Linked DNA regions of Homo sapiens: all the other regions are linked to region 3. Evidence: promoter capture Hi-C in human tissues and cell types (Jung and others, 2019). All regions are on one chromosome and are shown on one strand. Each heading gives the region's core, a stretch centred on a gene start or on the middle of the fragment in contact. The rest is flanking DNA. Distances are from core to core; before and after follow the strand shown.

Evidence for each region. The method cuts DNA at HindIII sites, captures the fragments that hold promoters and counts their contacts. A contact is called where the count stands out against the background at its distance.
Region 1: a fragment that was not itself captured here is called in contact with the fragment with the promoter of POMC in region 3 in 1 of the 25 tissues and cell types used here (aorta).
Region 2: a contact is called between a fragment that was not itself captured here and the fragment with the promoter of POMC in region 3, in 1 of the 25 tissues and cell types used here (lymphoblastoid cells).
Region 4: a contact is called between a fragment that was not itself captured here and the fragment with the promoter of POMC in region 3, in 1 of the 25 tissues and cell types used here (adrenal gland).

What each region holds. Positions count from the first base shown.
Region 1 is chr2:24,804,816-24,807,515 of GRCh38, forward strand. The region is part of intron 3 of CENPO (centromere protein O); the gene reads left to right. Among named protein-coding and RNA genes, the nearest start is that of CENPO, 13 kb to the left of the region's middle. The HindIII fragment of the contact is 4,865 bases long and covers 1-2,700 here.
Region 2 is chr2:25,597,994-25,600,693 of GRCh38, forward strand. All of the region lies in intron 5 of DTNB (dystrobrevin beta), which reads right to left. Among named protein-coding and RNA genes, the nearest start is that of DTNB, 74 kb to the right of the region's middle. The HindIII fragment of the contact is 7,124 bases long and covers 1-2,700 here.
Region 3 is chr2:25,167,193-25,170,142 of GRCh38, forward strand. It overlaps POMC (proopiomelanocortin), which reads right to left and starts at 1,388. Exons shown (of 3, transcript NM_000939.4): 1 at 1,306-1,388. RefSeq lists a promoter at 1,262-2,074, cis regulatory regions at 1,413-1,425, 1,491-1,664, 1,665-1,690 and an enhancer at 1,485-1,504. The HindIII fragment of the contact is 18,073 bases long and covers 1-2,950 here.
Region 4 is chr2:25,507,696-25,510,694 of GRCh38, forward strand. All of the region lies in intron 9 of DTNB (dystrobrevin beta), which reads right to left. Among named protein-coding and RNA genes, the nearest start is that of DTNB-AS1, 88 kb to the left of the region's middle. The HindIII fragment of the contact is 4,673 bases long and covers 1-2,999 here.

The DNA.
Region 1 (2,700 bases), core at 11-2,510, 360 kb before region 3:
TTCTCAAGGAGTATCTTTGTGGCGTTCTCTGTAGTTCCTGAATATGAATATTGGCCTGCCTTGCTAGTTTGGGGAAGTTCTCCTGGATAATATCCTGCAGAGTGTTTTCCAACTTGGTTCCATTCTCCCCATCACTTTCAGGTACACCTATCAGACGTAGATTTGGTCTTTTCACATAGTCCCATATTTCTTGGAGGCTTTGTTCGTTTCTTTTTATTCTTTTTTCTCTAAACTTCTCTTCTTGCTTCATTTCATTCATTTCATCTTCCATCACTGATGCCCTTTCTTCCAGTTGATCGAATCGGCTACTGAGGCTTGTGCATTCGTCACGTGGGTCTCACGCCATGGTTTTCAGCTCCATCAGGTCCTTTAAGGACTTCTCTGCATTGGTTATTCTAGTTAGCCATTCGTGTAATTTTTTTCAAGGTTTTTAACTTCTTTGCCATGGGTTCGAACTTCCTCCTGTAGCTCGGAGTAGTTTGATCGTCTGAAGCTGTCTTCTCTCAACTCGTCAAAGTCATTCTCCGTCCAGCTTTGTTCCATTGCTGGTGAGGAGCTGCGTTCCTTTGGAGGAGGAGAGGCGCTCTGATTTTTAGAGTTTCCAGTTTTTCTGCTCTGTTTTTTCCCCATCTTTGTGGTTTTATCTACCTTTGGTCTTTGATGATAGTGACGTACAGATGGGGTTTTGGTGTGGATGTCCTTTCTGTTTGTTAGTTTTCCTTCTAACAGTCGGGACCCTCAGCTGCAGGTCTGTTGGATTTTGCTGGAGGTCCACTCCAGACGCTGTTTGCCTGGGTATCAGCAGCGGAGGTTGCAGAGCAGCGAATGTTGGTGAACAGCAAATGCTGCTGCCTGATCGTTCCTCTGGAAGTTTTGTCTCAGAGGAGTACCCAGCTGTGTGAGGTGTCAGTCTGCCTCTACTGGGGGATGCCTCCCAGTTAGGCTACTCGGGGGTCAGGGACCCACTTGAGGAGGCAGTCTGTCTGTTCTCAGACCTCCAGCTGCGTGCTGGGAGAACCACTACTCTCTTCAAACTATCAGACAGGGACATTTAAGTCTGCAGAGTTTTCTGCTGCCTTTTGTTTTGCTATGCCCTGCCCCCAGAGGTGGAGTCTACAGAGGCAGGCAGGCCTCCTTGAGCTGCAGTGGGCTCCACCCAGTTCGAGCTTCCAGGCTGCTTTGTTTACCTATCCAAGCCTCGGCAAGGGCGGGCGCCCCTCCCCCAGCCTTGCTGCTGCCTTGCAGTTTGATCTCAGCCTGTTGTGCTAGCAATGAGCAGGCTCTGTGGGCGTAGGACCCTCTGAGCCAGGCGCGGGATATAATCTCCTGGTGTGCCGTTTGCTAAGACCGTTGGAAAAGCGCAGTATTGGGGTGGGAGTGACCCGATTTTCCAGGTGCCGTCTGTCACCCCTTTCTTTGACTAGGAAAGGGAACTCCCTGACCCCTTGCGCTTCCTGGGTGAGGCGATGCCTCGCCCTGCTTTGGCTCACACTCGGTGTGCTGCAACCACTGTCCTGCACCCACGGTCCGACACTTCCCAGAGAGATGAACCTGGTACCTCAGTTGGAAATGCGGAAATCACCCGTCTTCTGCGTTGCTCACGCTGGGAGCTGTAGACTGGGGCTGTTCCTATTCGGCCATCTTGGCTCCACCCCCTCACCTAACATTTGTCAGGCACTACTGGTAAGCCAGGCAAGTTCTTCCTGACAGGTTCTTAACCTGCCCTAATAAACACCTAAGTTTGTTACCTCAATCATATACATATTGGGTATATGCCTGGTAGAATTGCTGAGTCATAGGATATGCATATTCGGTTTAGTAAATACTGCCAGTTTTTGAAAGTGATTGTACTAGTTTTACATTCCCAGCAATAGTTGTATAAGATTTCCCTTGTTTTGCATTTTTACCAATACTTAAAGTGGCCTGCCTTGAGTTGTTGATACTTGTGTCATTTTTGACATCTGTCATCCAGACTCAACCTCCTAGGGAGCTTGACCCTTCCCTTTTTTCAGTTTTCTCTCTAGCCTAGGTTCAGTCAGCAAGACCTATCAGATTTTTCTTTTATATTGCCTTTGTCCTTCCTCCATTGCCACAGCTCAAATATTAGTCATATATGGAGTAAATATCAGGTGATTTGGATATCAGGATTATGACAGTAGTCTGCCAGTTGGTGCATCTTCTAGTATTTCTGCTTTTCCAATAAATCCTGCACAGCCAAGAAAATGCTTCATGAAACACCGCACCATTGCTCTGCTCAAAAGCCGTCAACAACCCTTCATTGCCCATTGGATATCAGCCTTCCTCCCCCTCTTCCTTTTCCACCTGTACCTCTCTTCCTTCCTCCCTTCTTCCGTTCTTTTTTTTTAATTAAAGTGTAATATATATGAAGTGCACTATGACAGAGATTAAAGTATAGAGCATTACCAACACCCAGAAGCCTCCAGTTTGCCTCTTCCTAGTCTTCTCTTAAGTCTTCTCTTAAGGTACCCACTATTCTGATTTCTGTCACCATACATAGGTTTTACCTGATTTTGAACTTTATATAAATGTTAAAAAGCTAATTTATAGCTTAAAAAGTACAAACTCTTATGTCTGGCTTCTTTTGCTGAATGTTCTGACTGTGAGATTCACCTACACTCTGCTTATAGTGCTCATTTTTTTTATTGCTGAATAGCAATTCTATTTTATGAGTATACTACA
Region 2 (2,700 bases), core at 22-2,521, 430 kb after region 3:
CCTCTTCTTCCTTAGTAACAGAACACTAATTTTATTTTGTGCAGTAATGTACCAACTAACAAGTTGCAAGTTCCCAGCAAGTAGCGGTCATGTGACTAACTTCTAGCTAAAATGAGCTTGTAAGCAGAAGGGTTGTAGGGGACTTCCAGAAGACTAGGTAAACAAACCTAACTGAGCCAAAAAAGCAGGCCACTTGTTCCTTATTCCCTTCCTCCTTCTTCTACCTGGAGTGCAGCTATGATAGCTGGAGCTCCAGCTGCCATCTTGCACTATGTGGTAATCTCAATCTTGATATAGAAATCACTCTAGAATGGTAGGGGAAAAAAAAGACAAAGTGTGAATCCCAGATGAACATGAAGTTACCATACTGGCCCTGGACTACCCACCTCTGGACTTCTTTTATGTGAGAGAAAATTAAACCTCAACTTTGTTTACGATACTGTTATTCCGGGTTTTTGCTCTCATGCAACAAACTCTAACACTAAGCATTACTCTACTATTACAGCTTAGAAAGGTTAACTTGCTTAAGGTCAAAAAGTTCAGAGGCCAAATCAAGTTTAAAACCACACCTATCTGACTCCAAAATAAATACCATTACACCACACTCCTTCAAAATATAATTTAGAATAGATACAAAAACACATAAGCAGGAATTGTCAAGTTCTAAAATAAAGACATTTGGAAGCTAGGCCTTGAAAGAGAGGATCTGGAATGATGGGGTCAAAACAGGTTGAGGATAGGGACTGGGGGGCACTAAAGAAGAGTAGGATAAAAGTCTATGACAGGAGCATGCAGCCTGTATCTCTTACCGGTGATAAGCAGGAAACAGGGTATTGAAGAAAAAATTCTACAACAGCCAATTTATAGTGAGAAAAAAAGAAAAATAAAGACTGAATAGGAAGAGTATTTCTGTTATAAAAGAAAACGATGAAAGAGGGAAGCAATCTGGATTTAGCTTAAAAACTTTTAAGTAGAGATCAAATTTTTAGAAAGCTAGGTTTCAAGGCAATTAGACTGTTAATGACCGGCACACAATGAATAAAAGAAAAAGAATGGAATTGGAGACACCAGCTAGGAAACCTTGTAAACAATGCACAAAGGAGGTTGTGGGGGAGCCTGGATTACAGCAGTGACAGTGTGTGCGGGGACAGGGGAGGCCAAGTCCAAGGCATTTCAATGCAAGGAACTGCAGTTGATGGCAAACTAGATTACGGAATAAAGGAAGTTTAAAAGTTAGGATTATTTTAAGTTTCTAGTTTGGGGAAATGATGACAAATCCTGATTGACATAAGCAAATCAAAGATAAAGATATTACACTTAGCTTTGAACATTACTGTTTGAACTAACTAGCAATTTTTTTTTTTTTTAGACGGGGTCTCACTTTGTTGCCCAGGCTGGAGTGCAGTGGTGTGATCTTGGCTCACTGCAAGCTCCACCTCCTGGGTTCACACCATTCTCCTGCCTCAGCCTCCTGAGTAGCTGGGACTACAGGCGCCCGCCACCATGCCCAGCTAATTTTTTGTATTTTTAGTAGAGACGGGGTTTCACCGTGTTAGCCAGGATGGTCTCAATCTCCTGATCTCGTGATGCACGCCTCGGCTTCCCAAAGTGCTGGGATTACAAGTGTGAGCCACAGTGTCTGGCCCAAACTAGCAAATTTTTAAGTGGAACTACCATGCAGACAGTTAGAAACAATATTTGACCACAGTTCTAGACTGCAGATAGAGAACTTTGAAAATGTTACCAATGATATGAATAAATGATGCTCTTCAAAGGAGGGAAGAACATAAATGATTTAACCTTTAAATAGCTGGCTGCTGGTCAGGCGTGGTGGCTCACACCTGTAATCCCAGAACTTTGGGAGGCCCAGGCAGAGGAGAATCGCTTGAGCCCAGGAGTTCAAGGCCAGCCTGGGCAAGATAGCAGGACCTTGTCTCTACAAAAAATAAAAAAAATTAGCTAGGCATGGTGGCAGGTGCCTGTACTCCCAGCTACTCAGGAGACTGAAGGGGGAGGACCGCTTGAGTGCAGAAGTTGGGGGCTGCAGTGAGCTCTGATCATACCACTACACTCCAGCCTGGGTAACAGAGCAAGACCCTATCTCAAAAATAAATAAATAGCTGCTAGTCTTACAAGGAGGAAAATAATCGTTCATTGAATCTGAATGAAAACAAAGGGTCAACATGGGAGGTGGCAGACACTGCCAGGTGCCTCAGTATCTTCTTCCCCTTCTCGCTCACTAGCTGAGCCCGACTGCTGGGAATGACTATGTGCCACTTAACGAATGACTTCTCAGCCTCCTTTGCACATTGCAATGCTGGAGTAGATGTCTGGAAAACCCTTTGCTTTCTTCATAGAGGCAACTCTTTCTTCCTTCTGCCTGGAGTAAGTACAGAGGCCTGGGATATGGCAAACATCTTTTGATCCTAAGGACGAAGGCCATATGGCAGAAGAAAGACGGGAAGAAGTGAAGTCTGTGAGGACAGCCATAAGTCAGGGTACCAACTTTGAACTTCTCAGCGTTTGGACTTATTTTTACATGAGAAAAATAAATCCCAATCTGCTTAAGCCACTCTCAGTCAAGTTTTCTATCGCCACTCTGTGTATTCATAACTAATTAACTAATGAGTAATTAACCTGTGGCCACTAGTGGTGGAAATATTCAGGACCAGTGACTTTAGCTTTCAAGTACATTAATAT
Region 3 (2,950 bases), core at 138-2,637:
GCATCGAGTCCTATAACAAAAGCATCAAAGGAACAGTAAGTCATTAAAGTGGCCATAATCTGTGCAGAGTTTATAAACTGACACACACACAAAAAAAATCCACACACACTTTTATTTTCCTTGGCTCCTTCCAGCCATTCTGTAAGAACCCTCCCTGCCCCATTTAAACATGAAGAATTTGGGGAATCCAAATGCCAAGTGGACTGTCTCTCCTTCGCTGGAAACGCCCCTTACCTGAGCCTTGATCATTCCAAATGGCTGCCCGTGCCCTCAACCCAGGATCTGCGCCATAAACCGTCCACCCCGGTTCTGTTGAGGGCATCCGAAACTAGACAGTGCGTTTCAGGATCTAGGACAGCTCCCGCCCCGGCCACCTGTTTTTAACCCCAGCTAGGTCTTGGAGAGAAGAGACCCAACTATTCTGCATTGTAATTGACCCAGTTATCATGTAATTATCATAGCGCGGCCACCTCGGGTGCGCTAAGGTGGGCAAGGAAACAAGGATTCAGGGGTCTGAATCCGAAAAAATCCGGAAGGCAGGGCGTTCATTATGACTTTTATCCTTTTCTCTGCTGCCCCGTTTCCAACATTAATTTGCGATAGCGTGTATGGAATTTGACTTTCAAGATGTGACACCTATCCTGGAAACTGGGAGCAAGAGATACTAAAAGACCGGGCTGGCCGGGGGCGGTGGCTCGCGCCTGTAATGCCAGAACTTTGGGGGGCCAAGGCGGGCGGATCACCTGTTGTCGGGAGTTTGAGACCAGCCTGACCAACATGGAGAAACTCCGTCTCTACTAAAAATACAAAAATTAGCCGGGCGTGGTGGCGCATGCCTGTAATCCCAGCTACTCGGGAGGCTGAAGCAGGAGAATCGCTTGAACCCGGGAGGCGAAGGTTGCGGTGAGCAGAGATCACCCCTTTGCTCTCCAGCATGGGCAACAAGAGCGAAACTCCGTCTCAAAAAAAAAAAAAAAGACCGGGTTGTCCCAAGACCTCCTAGCAAGCTCTCGGAGCCTCCGGACCGCCGCGAGCCCCTGGGGGAGAGGAGGCCGCCGGCTCCCTGGAGACAGCGCCTGCAGCTTCGCGGCCGTCCGCCCAGGGGCCGGACGTGGGCCCTCCAGCTCAGCTACTGGCGGCTTCTCATGCCGCAGTCGGCGCAGAAAGTTTGTCGAGAACTCGGGACCGCGGAGAGCCAGAGGCGCCCAGGTCCGCCTTCGGAGCCGGAGCCGGCCGACTGCATCGCGAGGACGGGGACAGGGGATCCCGGGGAAAGAGCACGGGTCCCCCACGCTGCGCCCTTACCTGTCTCGGGAGGCTGCTCTCTGAGGGCGGGGACGCTCGGCGGCCTCTCTCGGTCGCGGCTCTTCTTCCCCTCCTTCGCCGCCGCTTGGTCCCGCGCTCCTCTGTCCTTATATACTTGCCGAGCTCTCCTGGTGGGCGCGGGACTTTGACCTTCCCGGCAGCACAAGGAGCAGCTCCCCGGGCCAGGGGAAGGGGGGCCGCGGGGCGTGGGAGGGGGGCTTCCAGACGGGGGACGAGCGCGGGGAGACGCGCTGGAAAGGGGCTGGAATTAGCACTGTCCTGCCGAAGGCGCACCTGGCCGCTCGCCCTCAGGAAGAACTTAATTATGGATGGCGTTGGGTCTCCGCTTAGAACGGGCGGGAGGCTTAGCACCCCCGTGTGGGGCAGGCCGGGCAGCCTCTGAGGTCGTTGAGGCGAGGGTGAAGTTACCTGCGTGCGTGCTGGGGCTGGCATCTGCCTGGTTCGCATTTGGCGGTAAATATCACCGTCTGCACACGGGGAGGCCTCCGATTTCCCCATTGTTTGGAAACTGTGATGTGGAAGTCGTGGGGAATCATATTCTCTCTGTTCCACTTTGGGGAGGGGAGGAGGGAGCAGAAGTCAGGAGCCGTCTTGTGGGTGTGAAGGTGAGTTGCACTGCTCCCCTGGGGCCTGCTCTCCAAGGGCCTGGTTTAGGGGAGGCTCCCTTCCGTGTCCCAAGCCTCAAGGAAAAAGTCCTGTTAACCTAAACCATTAAATGGGGAGAGGGTGATGCTGTGAAGAGCAGCTGAAGTGCTTTCCCTGTGGCCTCTGATCCCTCCCTTTGCCATGAGCTGGCAGGGTGGTCTGGGGACTCAGACAATTTTCAACATCCCCCTTGGCCCTGGAGTTCTGGCTTGGCTTTAGTTCCAAATATCAGACCAGAGAGAAGAGTACAGCACTCAAACCAAGCTAAGAGACTCTACCTTAACCTGGAGTAAATAAACAAAACCAAATTGTGCGATGTGGTGGGTGTGGGAGGGAGTATTGGGACTAAACTGGACTTCAAATCAAGACACTTGCTTAATCTGCCAAATGCCAGAACTTTCCTGATTCCCCATGAGATGCTCTTTTGGACTCCAGGACTCTCTTGTGGATTCAGCTTTTCTGGTGACATTGGCTTTACATTCAGCAATCCTTTCCCTTTGGACCACAAGAGAGATCCAAGCTCCGTCACAGTAGACAAGGTGCTTCATCACCCGGCTTTGGCCCCTTTCCAGGGCCATTTCCCAGTTCTCCACCTTGCATCCTGGCACTTCAGCATCCACAACATTCACACTGCTAGAACATGGCTTTCTTGGGTCTCCATTGTCCAAGCTGTTCCCCCAACTAGAACATCCTTCCTCTCTCCAGCCATCCAGGAGCTTGACTCACATCAAGATGTAGCCCATCCATCAGCCCCTGTTCTCTGAAGCCCTCTTTGGCCACTTTTCCTACCAGGGGCATGAGGCATGACCTCCTCTGCCTTCCACAGAAGTCCATCCCCATCTTGTCAGTGCAAGTGGCTTGCACTAATTCACTTCTGTCCCCATTTTTTTAATCTTCCATCCACCCCACGACCACCATCAGGTTTGTAAACTCTTTCAAGCAGATGGTGGTTTTGCCTTATTTTACTTTGTGTTATTTT
Region 4 (2,999 bases), core at 7-2,506, 340 kb after region 3:
CGGCCAGAAAGAACATCCTTTTAAAATGGAAGTCAGATCAGTCAAAGCAATCCAAACACATCCTCTTGTCACTTAGTCCTTACAATGGCATATAAGACCCTCTACCATCTAGCCCTCATAATATCTTTGATTTCATTTCCCTCTTGCTAATTTAACTCCCCCTCTACCAGCTTTTTGATGTTCCTTAAACATGCTAGGTATGCTTTGGCTGCAGGGCCTTTGCCCAGCCTGTTCCTTTGGCAAGGAATGCTCTTCCTCCAGATACCCAAAAGGGTAACTCCATCACCTCCTTCAAGCTGATGTTCAAATGTCACTTTTCATTAAGGCCTAAAGCAATTATTAAAAATGGCAACCCACTAGACCTCCAATACTGCCCATCCCTCTTTCCCTATTTTGCTGTTCTATATAGCACTTATTACCTTCTAATATATAATTTATTTATTTATTAAGATTTTTGCCTGTTTCCCACCACTAAAAAACAAGCTTCATGAGAGCAAAGATTGTTTTGTCTGTTTTTCTTTAAGTGAGGCCTGGAACATATTAAGTGCCCAATAAATATTTGCTGAATGACTGATAAACAGAGAAAATCTGAAGATAACGAAAGGAATAATAAGACAAAAGCAGGAATCAGTAATTATCTGTTTCATTTCATGATAATTACTAACAATTTTGACATATAAAGGAAAGGGCTGTTAAATATGATCCATTCTGAATGTCAAATATGCTAGGTATACCACTGGCCTTCCAATTTATAAATATGGTATACCTCTTCATTTATTTAGGGCTTTTAACATTTCTTTTTTGTTTGTTTTTTTTTTTTTGAGATGGAGTTTCGCTCTTTGTTTTTTATTTTTTTGAGATGGAGTTTCGCTCTTGTTGCCCACACTGGAGTGCAACGTCATGATCTTGGCTCACCACAACCTCCGCCTCCCGGGTTCAAGCGATACTCCCACCTCAGCCTGCCGAGAAACTGGGATTACAGGTGTGCACCACCACGCCGGGCTAATTTTTTATTTTTAGTAGAGACAGGGTTTCTCCATGTTGGTCAGGCTGGTCTCAAACTCCCAACTTCGGGTGATCCACCCACCTCAGCCTCCCAAAGTGCTGGGATTATAGGCGTGAGCCACTGCACCCGGCCCTAAAATTTCTTTCAGCAATACTTTGTAGTATTTAGTTTACACATCTTGCACATATTTCATTATATGTATTCCTACGTTATGTTTCTCAATGCTATTATAAATGGTATTGCTTTTTAAAATTTCATTTCCTAATTGCTGCTAATATACAGAAATGCCACTGATTTTTTTAAAGTGATCTATGTCCTGCAATACTGCTAACTTTGTTAGTTCTAGTACTTTGCTTTGTAGATTCCTTAGCATTTTCTATGTACACAATCACGTCATCTATGAATAAAGAAAATTTTAATATTTCCTTTTCGATCTGAATGCCTTTAATTTCTTTTTCTCGTATTACTGCACTAGCTAGGATCACTAGTAAAATGCTGAATAGATGCACTAAGAGTGACATTCTTGCATTGTTCCCAATATTAAGGTAAAATGTTCAGTCTTTTAACATTAAGTATGATGGTAGCTAGGTAGGTTTTTCATAGATGTGCATTTTCAGATTGAGAAGGTACCCTCTATTCCTAACTTTCTGAGAGTTTTTAAAAATGTGAATTGAGGGTTGAATTTTGTCAAATGCCTAAGATCATTTTCCTTCTCCTCGAAACATACCCTTTACAAATTCCTTTAGCGAGGTTCCTTTAGTAGTGAGCATTTTTATTCATCTGCAAATGTTTTTGTCTTTGCCTTTCTTGACAGGTATTTTCTCACTGGGTATACAATTTTAGGATTATTATTTTCCTCTCAGTTCTTGGAAGATCGTATTCCACTCTCCTTTGGTTTCTAATGTTGCTCTTCAGAAGTCAGCTCTCTGTGAAATTGTCAATTCTTTGTAAATAATCTTCTATTTGTTTTTAGTATCTTTTCTTTGTCTCTGGGGTCCTCTAGCTTTACTATGATGTGTGTAGGTATGAATTTTCTTTTAGATTCTTTTTTTTTTTTTTTTTTTTTGAGACAGAGTGTTGCTCTGTCGCCTAGGCTGGAGTGCAGTGGTGCGATCTCAGCTCAATTGCAACCTCCATCTCTTGGGTTCAAGTGATTCTTGTGCTTCAGTCTCCCAAGTAGCTGGGACTACAGGCACGCATCACCACACCTGGCTAATTTTTGTATTTTTAGTAGAGATGGGGCTTCACCATGTTGGCCAGCCTGGTCTCGAACGCCTGACCTCAAGTGATCTGCCCACCTTGACCTCTCAAAGTGCTGGGATTACAGGCATGAGCCACCATGCCCGGCCTAGATTCTTAATTAAGATTTGTTGACCACTGCTATGAACTTGGGACAATTTCCATTCATTATCTTTTGGCCTTACCAAGAATTTTTTTTATTTTGTCCTTCTGGAATTCCAATTATCTGTAGGTTTATAATCTCTAAATCTAATCTGATATTTACCTTATCTAATTGAGGTTTCTATTTTTTTTTTAATTCCTAGTTTTATTTGATTCCTTTTCAGATTTTCTGGTAATTTTTATATTCTTTTGTTTCTCCATACTTTATACTTTTAACATACTCCTTTTTTAAAAAAATATTTACTTTATATGCTGTATTTGATAGTTCACACTCTTTGTAGGACTTTAATGTATTGTTCCTGTTAATTCTTACACAGGCCAGCTTATTTTTTTCTTACGTGAGTTCAAGTTCCTTGGAACTTATCTGTGGAGATTACTCAAGGCTGAGGTTTTTAAGTGCCTTTCTTCTTCTTTTTTTTTTTTGAGATGGAGTCTCGCTCTATTGCCCAGAATGGAGTACAGTGATGCGATCTCGGCTCACTGCAACCTCCACCTCCCAGATTCAAGCAATTCTCCTGCCTCAGCCTCCCATGTAGCTGGGATTACAGGCACCCGCCACCACACCCAGCTAATTTTTGTATTTTTAGTAAAG